Regions from separate parts of the Homo sapiens genome. Here all the other regions are linked to region 4. The links are contacts of gene promoters, found by promoter capture Hi-C in blood cells and fetal thymus (Javierre and others, 2016). All regions are on one chromosome and are shown on one strand. Each heading gives the region's core, a stretch centred on a gene start or on the middle of the fragment in contact. The rest is flanking DNA. Distances are from core to core; before and after follow the strand shown. Region 1 overlaps HMBOX1 (homeobox containing 1). Region 2 overlaps KIF13B (kinesin family member 13B). Region 3 overlaps KIF13B (kinesin family member 13B). Region 4 holds the start of INTS9 (integrator complex subunit 9).

What was found. Contacts are between HindIII fragments. The CHiCAGO score rates a contact against its expected background, and 5 or more counts as called.
Region 1: a contact is called between a fragment that was not itself captured here and the fragment with the promoter of INTS9 in region 4, in 4 of 17 cell types (naive B cells, total B cells, endothelial precursors and 1 more). The highest score is 7.1, in naive B cells.
Region 2: a fragment that was not itself captured here is called in contact with the fragment with the promoter of INTS9 in region 4 in 1 of 17 cell types (total B cells); the score reaches 6.4 in total B cells.
Region 3: a fragment that was not itself captured here is called in contact with the fragment with the promoter of INTS9 in region 4 in 2 of 17 cell types (total B cells and naive B cells); the score reaches 8.2 in total B cells.

What each region holds. Positions count from the first base shown.
Region 1 is chr8:29,020,878-29,023,757 of GRCh38, forward strand. The region is part of intron 6 of HMBOX1 (homeobox containing 1); the gene reads left to right. The region is part of intron 2 of LOC105379346 (a long non-coding RNA gene); the gene reads right to left. Among named protein-coding and RNA genes, the nearest start is that of HMBOX1, 130 kb to the left of the region's middle. The HindIII fragment of the contact is 6,270 bases long and covers 1-2,880 here.
Region 2 is chr8:29,080,333-29,083,219 of GRCh38, forward strand. All of the region lies in intron 37 of KIF13B (kinesin family member 13B), which reads right to left. Among named protein-coding and RNA genes, the nearest start is that of KIF13B, 180 kb to the right of the region's middle. RefSeq lists an enhancer at 1-356. The HindIII fragment of the contact is 7,261 bases long and covers 1-2,887 here.
Region 3 is chr8:29,096,384-29,099,083 of GRCh38, forward strand. The region is part of intron 36 of KIF13B (kinesin family member 13B); the gene reads right to left. Among named protein-coding and RNA genes, the nearest start is that of KIF13B, 170 kb to the right of the region's middle. The HindIII fragment of the contact is 3,073 bases long and covers 1-2,700 here.
Region 4 is chr8:28,888,548-28,891,519 of GRCh38, forward strand. It overlaps INTS9 (integrator complex subunit 9), which reads right to left and starts at 1,422. Exons shown (of 17, transcript NM_018250.4): 1 at 1,327-1,422. The coding sequence starts at 1,335. HMBOX1 (homeobox containing 1) reads left to right here and starts at 1,848. Exons shown (of 10, transcript NM_001135726.3): 1 at 1,848-2,131. RefSeq lists enhancers at 1,205-1,761, 1,401-1,600, 1,762-2,318 and a silencer at 1,971-2,090. The HindIII fragment of the contact is 2,854 bases long and covers 480-2,972 here.

The DNA.
Region 1 (2,880 bases), core at 318-2,817, 130 kb after region 4:
GTATAAGATAAAAGTAAGGCTGGACATGGTGGTTCACACCTATAATTTCAGCTTTGGGAGGCCAAGGCAGAAGGATCACTTGAGGCCAAGAGTTTGAGACCAGCCTGGGCAACATAGCAAAACCCCATCTCTACAAAAAATTCAAAAAATATCTGGGCGTGGTGGCATACACTTGCATTCCTAGCTACTCAGGAGGCTGACATGAGAGGATTGCTTGAGCCCAGGAGTTTGAGGTTACAGTGAGCTATGATTGCACCACTGCACCCCAACCTGGGCGACATAGTAAGATCCTATCTCAAAAATTAAAATGAAATTTTAAAAAAGTAAAAAATTATTCCATTCTTCATACATCAAGATAAATTTCAAATGAGTCAAAGAAGTGAATCCATATAAATAATAGAAGAAAACATGAGTGGTCCCTTCATATCCTGGCAATGGGAAAAATATTTCCTAACCATGACCCAAAATCTAAAAACAATAAAGGAAAAGATTGATAAATATGATTACATAAATTAAAAGAAAAACTTTGGAGGGAGTAAAAGCTGAGCAAAGTAAAAGACAAATTGGAAAAAAAAATTGCAACTTTTATTATCCCTAATAAAGAGCTCTTAAAAGACCAATAACTCTATCTTTATTGGGCTAAAGATAGGAGAAAAAATGCAAATGGTCCTTGAACATATGAAAATATGCTCAATCGGCCAGGCGCGGTGGCTCATGTCTGTAATCCCAGCACTTTGGGAGGCCGAGGCGGGCGGATCACGAGGCCAGGAGATCGAGAGCATCCTGGCTAACACAGTGAAACCCTGTCTCTACGAAAAATAGAAAAAAAAAAATTAGCCGGGCGTGGTGGCGGGCACCTGTAGTCCCAGCTACTCGGGAGGCTGAGGCAGGAGAATGGCATGAACCCAGGAGGCAGAGCTTGCGGTGAGCCGAGATCGTGCCACTGCACTCGAGCCTGGGTGACAGAGCGAGACTCCGTCTCAAAAAAAAAAAAAAAAATGCTCAATCTAATTGATAGTAAGAGAAATTCAAATTAAAACTACATTGAGATACTATTCTTCACTTATTACATTGACAAAAATCCAAAAGTTTGGCAACATTTTATATTGATTGGGCTGTAGAGAAACAGACACTCTCATACGTTACTTGTAGAAATGCAAAATGAAACAACTTAATGGAAGGGAATTCGGCAATATCAAGGAAAATTACCTATGAGTTTACCCTTTGACTTGACATTCCTACTTCTAGAAAATTATCTTAGGGCCAGTGGGTCACACCTGTAAATCCCAACCTTTTGGGAGGGCTGAGGTGAAAGAACCACTTGAGGCCAGGAGTTTGAGACTAGCCTAGGCAACATAGTGAGACCCCATCTCTATAAAAAATACAAAAAATTAGCAAGGCGTGGTAGGGCATGCCTGTAGTCCCAGCCACTCGGGAGGCTGAGGCAGGAGGATTGCTTGAGCCCAGGAGTTTGAAGCTGCAGTGAGCTATGATCACACTACTGCACTTCAGTCTGGGTGACAGAGAAAGACCCTATCTCAAGAAGAAAAAGAAGAATCTTAAAGATATACTGGCAAAAATATGAAAAGATAACAGCACTGTTTTTACTAATTTCAAAATACAGAAGATGACCTAAATGTCTATTTGTAGTAACTATGTCAATAAATTATAGCACATCCATGTATTGGATGTTGAAACCCATGTAGTGGAGTACTATGCAGCTAAAGAACAAAAAACTCTGTATACAGTGATCTCCAGGATATAACATTAAGTTTAAAACAAGGCAGAATCAACTGTATATAATACAAAGCTGTCATTTATGTATTTGCTTATAACTTATTTTAAAATGGAGGAATAAACCATAAAATAAATGGTTATCAATAAAAGAGAAACAACTTAGAAGAGAGGTAGAAGCTAGATTTCTCGGAAAATACTTTGTTTTGACCTGTAACTAAATTACGTAATTATATATCAAAATTTAAAATCAGGGAAAAAATGGGGGGGAGGGGGGGAGGTGACCTTTAAAAAATAACTAAAATTAAACCTGTATATCAAAATAGTGCCTTAAACACCCAAGAATTATCTCAAATGTGTTTATAACACAGTAATTTCCTATACTTCCCAAGTGGGAAACAGCTTAAGAATAAAAAGAAACACCAAAAAAATCTTACACTGTTTCTACTAAATTTGGTATTATAGATACTGCTATTCAGGTACTATTTTTATTTACATAGCTAGATAGGTATAGATATAGATGTAGGTACAGATAAAACAAATAGTCATATTAGAGTTATTAGGAACCAAGATTGTCAGTGCAAAGGAAAAGAGAAATATAAAATCAAAAGATTTAAATAAAATACTGTAGTCTTCTGTATGTTTGCATAGAGATAGAAATTTATCTTGATTTAAAAAAAACAGCCTTAATGAGATACAATTCATCTATTTAAAGTGTACAATTTAATGCTTTTTAGTATATTCACAGAATTATGCAACCATAACCTCAGTCAATTTTAGAACATGTTTATCAGCTCCCTTCCCTTTTTGAGACAGGGTCTTGCTCTGTTGCCCAGGCTGGAGTTCAGTGGCATGATCATAGCTCACCACAGCCTCAACCTCCTGGGCTCAGGTCTTTCTCCCATCTCAGCCTCCTGAGTAGCTGGGACTACAGGCATGTGCCACCATGCCTGGCTAATTTTTATATTTTTGTAGAGACAGAGTTTTGCCATGTTGCCTAGGCTGGTATTGAACTCCTGGGCTCAAGAGATCCACCTGCCTCAGTCTCCTACAGTCCTGGGATTATAGGTGTGATCCACCGCTACAGCCCCAATTTTAGTAACCATAAGATTGATCAGTGAATTCAGTGTTACCTTCTTGATTCAC
Region 2 (2,887 bases), core at 29-2,528, 190 kb after region 4:
AAAAAAAAAAAAAAAAACCAACCCAAACATTAAGCCTCAGCAATAATCTAATCAATAGAAACACTTTTCTAAGGTTGTCCTGACCAGGGGCCTGGAAGAGAGGAAAACGAAGAGTTCCGGGAGGCGGGCGGGGAGAACGTGTCCAGCCCTGGCCTGAAGCCTGTGAACCAGCCTCCGGCATGTGAGGCCTTCAGTGACCACCCTGTGCGCCTGGAGGCTCCAGACCCTGACAGGGTGATGTGGATAGAATATGTGAGCCATAACGGCACCAGCACTTTTGTCCATCTGGCAGGTATAGTTATTTTAAATGCATGGCTTGGCATTCTAACTTTTGTGTAAAAACCTGATCACCTCTGGGCTTCCACACCTATCTGCAAGGGGATGATCCCATCTACATGAGTTCTCTAAGCGGTGTCACCAGGGAAGCGGACTGGTGGCTGCCGACCCCCGCCCGAGCCACTGTGCCCCTGCCTGCCACATGCCCCTCCAAGCAGTGCCTCGAAGGACTCAACACCAGAAGGCAACCATGGGTTTCTGACCCACATGATAATCCCTGCTGAGGATTCTACCCGCACTCGAATAGCGTCTTCTAACTCCATTCTCTTCAAATCCACTTTCCAAACTACAGCTGGAGGGAGCTTTCCGAAAAACAAAAGTGACCATGTCCCATGTCGCTCGCCACCTTGCAGCTGCCAGGGTTTCCCACTGCAGCAGACAGGGAAACGCTGGCAGGTCCTGCATGGTGTATTTCTGCGGCTCGATCCGTCCCTCCTGCAAACGCTCTACTGATTGATTCATTCCACAAATACAATGACTTGGTTACTCTTAATCACTGTCAGTGAAATCTCTTACAGTCACACGTGAGCATTTAACCGTGCTTTCTCAACGGAAAGCTCAGTTCTGCCACTCCTGAGGCTCTGTAACCTGAGACAGGTGTGCACCCTCCCCATTTCCCCAACAGGGCAGCAGCCCTGACATGGCAGCCACCAGCCACTGGTGGTGACCCAGCACTGAGAATGAGGCTAATGTGACTCAGAAAGTCCATTTTTTATTTTAATTAATAAAGCATAACCTTAAACACTGAAATGCTTTTAAGTATGTTTAGAACAGCCTCGGCATGTGGGTCTGCTTTTTCAACCATAAATTTTATGAATTCTAAATGCAGATCAAGTATTTCCGACGGAACTTTAGTGTCTGAATTGCAATGTGCTAGAAATGTAAAATACACACCTGATTTCAAGGACTTTGTACAGAAAGAAGGATGGGAATATCTCAACCTTTTTTTATACTACAGTTGATATGACAGTATTTTCAATACACTAGGTTAAACAAATGTTATTAAAATTAATCTGACCTGTATTCTTTTTACTTCCTTAAACGTGGCTACTAGGAAATTGTAACTTGCATACATGGCTCGCATTATGTATCTATTGCATGGTGCTTGTCTAACTCAGTCGTGTTGTTGAGATGGCACATTAAAATTCCTGGTGTGGTGCCAGGTATGCTGGAAGCTCTCGACACATTTGTAAAGTACTTCATTGGAATTTTGTGTCTGGTCTTCCTGGATATTTCTAAGTTGGCTTACTAAAAGTACATGTTTAAACAGTCAATAATTTCATCTGATCTAGAAATCACAAGTTTCAAATTAACTGAATCAGTCCCAAAGTCATTCCAAGATGAATTCCACTTTCTTTCAAACAAAGAACCTAAGATTTCATTTATTTACTCATTCGCAAATATGTACCAGGTACCTACTACATTCTAAAGACTGTGGTAGGCACTGGGGGTGCAGTGTGAGCAAAACTAGTCCCTGTGCTCCTCAAAACTAGGCACTCAAGGTCTAACATTTATATTCCTATTTAATTTCAGTTACACAAAACAATTAAAAGGCCTATTTTTCCTATCAACAAGTAAATTATTTTATCACTGCCTATAAGTGAATGACACCATTCACATGGTCTATAAGACATTAGATATGTATTATAGTCTAACTTATTCTAAGTACTATATAAATAAAATCTTAAATACTAGTATTTCCAGAGTTACTGGAAAAGATATCGCTTCTGATTTTTAGTATCTAGCCAGTTTACTTTACAAACTTCCACATAACAGCCTGGGCAACATACCAAGGCCTCATTTTTACAAAAAAAAAGTTTTTAATTAGCCAGGCATGGTAGCACACTCCTGTGGTCCCAGCTACTCGAGAGGCTGAGACAGGAGGACTTGCGCCCAGGAGTTCGAAGCTGCAGTGAGCTATGATCACATCACTGCACTCCAGCCTGGGCAACAGAGCAAGACCTTGTCAGAAAAAATAAATTAAAAAAAAATAAAACTTCTACATAATACTTAAAACTGATTTAAGCGTTCATATAAGAAAATTCTACACATATATTTTAAAAGATAGAATGCTCACTTCATCCAAAAAGAGTTACTAGTTTTTCAAGTGTCCATGAAGGATTAAGGATGCTTAAAGAATGTTTGCTAATCTGAAAACTTTAAAAATAGGGTCTTGTTGGGCAGAGTGGTTCACACACATAATCCCAGCACTTCCGGAGGCTGAGGCAGGAGGATTGCTTGAGCACAGCAATTCAAGACCAGCCGGTGTGACATAGGGAGACCCCGTCTCTACAAGATCAAAATTTAAAAATTAGCCAGCCATGGCGGTGTACACCTGTAGTCTCAGCTACTTGGGAGGCTGAGATGGGAGAATCACTTGAGCCCAGGAGGTCAAAGCTGCAATGAGCCATGATCACACCACTGCACTCCAGCCTGGGCAACAGAGCAAGACCCTGTCTAAAAAAAAAAGCCTTCATCCAGCTTGTCGCCAGCTTAATATGCGCTAAGAAATAAGAAATGGCTTTTACATTCTTAATGACTGAAACAAATC
Region 3 (2,700 bases), core at 189-2,688, 210 kb after region 4:
CAACCTCCCAGGTTCAGGTAATTCTCCCACTTCAGCCTCCTGAGTAGAGGGACTACAAGTGTGTACCACCACGCTCAGCTGATTTTTGTATTTTTTTGTGGAGATGGGGTTTTGCCATGTTGCCCAGGCTGGTCTCAACTAACCCACACCTAGGCCTCCCAAAGTGCTAGGGCTACAGGTGGGAGCTACCGCACCCGGCCTACAGGTGGCTATTTTAAAGCAAAAAGAATAACGTCATAAAGTGAGGTTTGAATACCTATATATGTAGAAGATGAAACAACAGTACAAAATGAGGGGCCCAGAGGAACAGGTCAATGACTTACACTGTTGCATGGTTCCTGTATTTGTGAGGTGAGGGGTGACGTCATATGAACTCTAAGCGATTTGATAAGTTAAGGATGCCAAGTAGGGTTTCTGAGCAAAGACTTTAGCAAACAAATACAGGTGTCCAAAAAAGCAAAAAGAGGAAATAAAATGAGATACTAATTTTTGTTTATTAACCCAAAAGAAGGTAAATAAGGAGTTACAGTGAAACAAAAAACAGAATGGCCAAGCAGAAAACCAATAAAAATATGGCGGACCAGAATGGGAGGCAATGGAAGGGTTCGTGAAGCATGCCGATTGAAGGGCAGGAACTACGAGATGAGATTCAGGGGGAAATAACTGGACCCAACCAAATGTTGTCTACAAGGCAATCGCTTTTAATTTAAAGACAAACACAGGCTAAAATTTTAAAAGCCAAGAAAAAGATACATCGTGCAAACAGTAAATAAATTTGATGCAGTTATATATAAATGATAGGTAAGAGAGATTTCAAGGTAAGAGTATTCCCAGAGACAAAAGGGACATTTCATGATAGGCCACTCTATCAGGAAGATATAACAATCTTAAATGTGTTATATCAGGAAGATATAACAATCTTAAATAATTAGAAGCTAATTATCAGAGCTTCTAAATGAATGAAGTAAAAACTGGTATAAAGGGAAACACATATAATTTTCACAATTATATTTGGATATCTAATGCCCTCTCAAGAACTGATGGAATAGGCCTCCACCAAATCAGCAAAGATCCAGAGGATTTGAACAAGGCAATAAACCACAGTGACCTAATTAGATATACATAGAACATCATGTCCCCAAACACAATAGTGCACATAGAATATTAACCAAGATAGAACACAATCTGGAATACAGATTACCCCCAAAAATAAAAAAGAATTAATGCTAGTTGATAAGTCATGGATCAAAGAAGCAATCAGAGGGAAATTTTAAAATACTCTGAATAGAATGAAAATGAAAGCACAACATACCAAAATATGTGAAATGCAGAAAAATTTAAAAAATCAATTGCAATAGAAAAAGCCAAAAACTGGTTCTGAGATTAATATATATGATAAACCTGTCAGAAAAGTATTCAAAACAGATAATACAAATTATCAGTATCAGAATAAAAAGAAGGAACATCACAAGAGATCCTATAAGTATTTAAAAAATAAGGTAAAGTGGCCAGGTGCGATGGCTCATGCCTGTAATCCCAGCACTTTGGGAGGCCAAGGCCGGCAGATCACAAGGTCAGGAGATAGAGACCAACCTGGCTAACATGGTGAAACTCCGTCTCTACTAAAAATACAAAAAATTAGCTTGGCATGGTGGCACGTGCCTGCAGTCCCAGCTACTTAGGAGGCTGAAGCAGGAGAATCACTTGAACCCAGGAGGCAAAGGTTGCAGTGAGCCGAGATCGCACCACTGCACTCCAGCCTGGGCGACAGAGTCAGACTCCATCTCAAAAAAAAAAAAAAAAAAAAGTAAGTGATGTTTATGAAAATAAACTTAATAATCTAGATAAACTAAGAAACTCCTTGAAAAAAATATAACCTATGATAGGTGACTCAAAAGGAGACACAAAGATCTAAATATTCCCATACTAAATAAACTTGCCGGGTGCAGTAGCTCACGCCTGTAATCCCAGCACTTTGGGAGGCTGAGGCAGACAGATCACCTAAGATCAGGAGTTTGAGACCAGCCTGGCCAACGTGGTGAAACCCCATCTCTACTAAAAATGCAAAAATTAGCCAGGCGTGGTGGTGGGCGCCTGTAATCCCAGCTACTTGGGGGGCTGAGGCAGGAGAATCACTTGAACCTGGGAGGGGCAGGTTGCAGTGAGCCGAGATTGCACTACTGGACTCCAGCCTGGGTGACAGAGCAAGACTCTGTCTCAAAAAAAAAAAAAAAAAGAAACTCAAGTCATAATTTAAAATCTCCCCACAAAGAGGATTCCAGGCCCGGATCATGTAACTACGGAATTTCATGAAACATTTAAGGAAGAGGTAATACTAATCTTACATAAACTCTCCCAGAAAAAAAAAATGAGGAGAAACATTTCCCAAGTCGTTTTATGAAGCCAATGCAATCATAACAAAACCTAACAAAGACATGAAGATGAGAAGATAAAACATTACAGATATTTACTATAGAGCACATACACAAAAGTCCTTAAAAAAGAGGTGCAAAGAGATTCCAGCAATGTACGGCTAACACATCATGATCAGGCGGTATATATCAGAGCAATGCAAGATCAATCCAACATTCCAGAGCCAATGGAACTCAACCTGTTAAGAGGAGAAATGAAACAACTCGATGGACATTATCTAGCAGAACAGTGGCTGCCTGGCAGGAAATTCTAATTTAAACTTTCTGA
Region 4 (2,972 bases), core at 172-2,671:
TCTCTAAATAAATAAATAATAACTTTGGTTTACTTTTCTATCTTCTTCTTAGGTTGCATGCTTCTGTAGGGCAACGGCTATGACTTTTAATTCTGCATTATTAAATGTGTAACACACTGACCCAGGGGTAAGTTGCTATTCTCAAGGTTTAGTGACCCGCATCCTTCCCCTTATATAAACAGATTTATACGGGGACAATTTCGGAATTGAATCCACTTTTAATACTTTCTCTGACTTCGCAGAAAACAGCTGGCTTTGCAGAATATATGCCTGTAGCACAATGATTATCAAGATGAGGGTAGGTGTGTTGTGTGGTTTGGCAAAGCATGTTCAGATAATTATATAAATGGTAAAAAATAAACTTTTTTTTTTTTTGAGACAGAGTCTCGCGCTGTTGCAAGGCTGGAGTGCAGTGGCGCGATCTTGGCTTACTGCAACCTCTGCCTCCCGGGTTCAAGCGATTCTCCTGCCTCAAGTAAAGCTTGACAATAACTTGGCTGCACAAATATGGGTTTTAAAAGGTTGAGAAACAGTGTTTCACACCTGCCTTTCTACACTATGTTATTAACTAATTGAATCGAGTTGGAATAAACTAGTTAGACTTGTGTGCACAATGAGTCAAATGGCTCAAATCAAAGGTCTGAGGAGCCTCCATGAACCAGGTGCTTGAGCTGTGTGATGTTAAGACTTCAGGTATACCGAGCACGCTTCATTCAGCCTTGGCTCATGAAGTCCCTACAGTCTTAGAATGGAATACCATATAACACTTCTCTGCCCATCTAAATCCCATGCAGGGTTTAAGACTCAACTTCTCCACACTCTGACCTCGTCCTGAATTCCAAGGGCAGTGAGGAGTCTATATAACAGGATATTTAATAAGTGATTACGTTCTGCTGGATGTTTTTTACTGTCTGCTTAAATCTAGCCAGTCTCAACAACAGTAGGGAGACAGGATACTCAAGCGCCAATCGAATGGAAACGGATTGTTAACAGCCTATTATAACCCTCACGTGGGAACCAGGACGTCCAAACCTGGTTAACAGAGCCCACAGAGTTCATGGGCGAAGGACTGTGACAGTCAACCTCTTGTCTGAACAAAAAGACCCACTAACGAGTGAAAAAAGACCTCCTGGGAGGGATGGGGTGGGGGAGAGGGAATTCAAACCTTCTCAACAACAAAAAGCAGCTTTCCTTAGCCCACTCCACTTTCCAGCTCAATAATTGCTACCCCTCCCGTGCGACGATTCCCTGCCCAACGTAGGAAAAAAAGAGGTCCAAAAGGTTATAGCATCACCTTTGCCCTCTGACCTAGGAGCGAAGACTCACCAGTTTCATAATGGACTTTTGGTGGTTCAATAGCAGTCACTGAACTCCTCAAACCCAGGAAGCGTCTTCCGGTGCAATCTCCGCCACCTGCCAGCCGAGAGCATCGCGGGACTTGCAGTCTTTCATCCTCACGTCCCTTCCAGGGGAATAATGGGAAATGTAGTCTCCCCTCCAGGCATCATGGGAACTGTGGTCGCCTTTCCTTTTCCTCCCTTTCCTCTCCGAACGCCTCCTTCCGTCAGCTCAAATTCATCCCAGCCGCCAATGCATCCTCCCTCTCCACCCCAGCATGATATCATGTCTTCCTTACGGGCCTGGGGCCCATGGTGTTCTGGGATGTGTAGTCCCGACGGCTCCGACTCCCCTTTCCCTCCTCCCAAAGGGAAGGCGGATGGGCACGGGGCTTGCCGGAAGTTGTAGTTCCCTTGGCCCTCTAGGCGCCGGGCTCCGCAATTTTTCTCAGGGGAGGCAGGAACTACAACTCCCAGGGACGCCCGGCGGCAGCAGGTGGGAGAGGGGCTGTTGATATCAATATGGCGGTTGTCAGCCAGACAAAGACAGTCAGTCTGATGTGATTGAGACAAGGGAGGTTTTTCAGGGGGAGACTGGGAGATAGGGGCCTCCCCTCCCCCTTCTCCTCTTCCTGCGCCGGCCTCAACCCCTCCCCAGTCCCCTCCCGACGGGCGCCCCACGCGGAAGACACCCCTCCCCCTCCCGCCTTCCCTCCTCCCTATCTCAGCCCTTCGTACTGGGACGTTGGGGAGGGGGCTGTGCCGGGCGGAGAGAACTCAGCGAGGATTCTGAGGTGAGTCGAGCGGTTTTGAAGCCGGACTACCTCAAGTCTCTTTCCTCACTTCTTTCTCTTCACTTAAAACAATTTTTTTGGAGGGGTTTTGGGGAGGAAGTGAGCGGACGCTGGGGATGGGTCTCGTAAGCGGCCGGATTGAGAGGAGGGAGGAAGCAGGGGGCTTCCGAGTGGGTGACCCAGACGCGGGCTGTGGGGTGGGGCAGTTCGTGGGGTCCGGTCCTGGAAAGGCGTCGACTGCCCCCCAACTCTTCTGGTTTCCTCTACGATGAGCGGAAGGTTTGAATCCTGGAGGTGGGGTCTCCGGTGTGGAGTTCTGGAAACTGTGAGGTGATTTGCAGGTGTGTTGGTTTGTTTGGGGTGTGTAAGTGTGTTTAAACTGTGTGACGTGTACTTGTGTGCTCTGCTCGTCTTGGAGCGGTGTCTGTAGATGGGAAGTTAGACAGCGCGAGTCCTCGCTCGCTCTGGGCCTGGGCTGAGGGGCGGGCGTGAGGTCCTGGTGCTGGGCGTTTGGGCTGGCGACGTGGTGCGAGGCGGCCGGGCTCAACAACTCGCTTGTGTCCCGTCGCCCGCTCACACTCTGCCACTCGCCTCCGCCCCCTCCCCTGGACGAATCTCCACCCCAAACTCCAGCCACGAGAACTGTAGAGATGGTGTGATGTGGAGATGGATTTTTTGCATCCTCAAGTCGGTAGATAGGTGGGAAAGGAAAAGTGTTTCTTAATATTTTATTCCGGAACCGTGTTTTGGTTACACTATTGGGGCTACTTTGAAAGGCGTCCTCCACCCACCTTCACCCCGAAACAGTAGGTAGAGGTATCTTGTCTTCGTGTGAATTAGA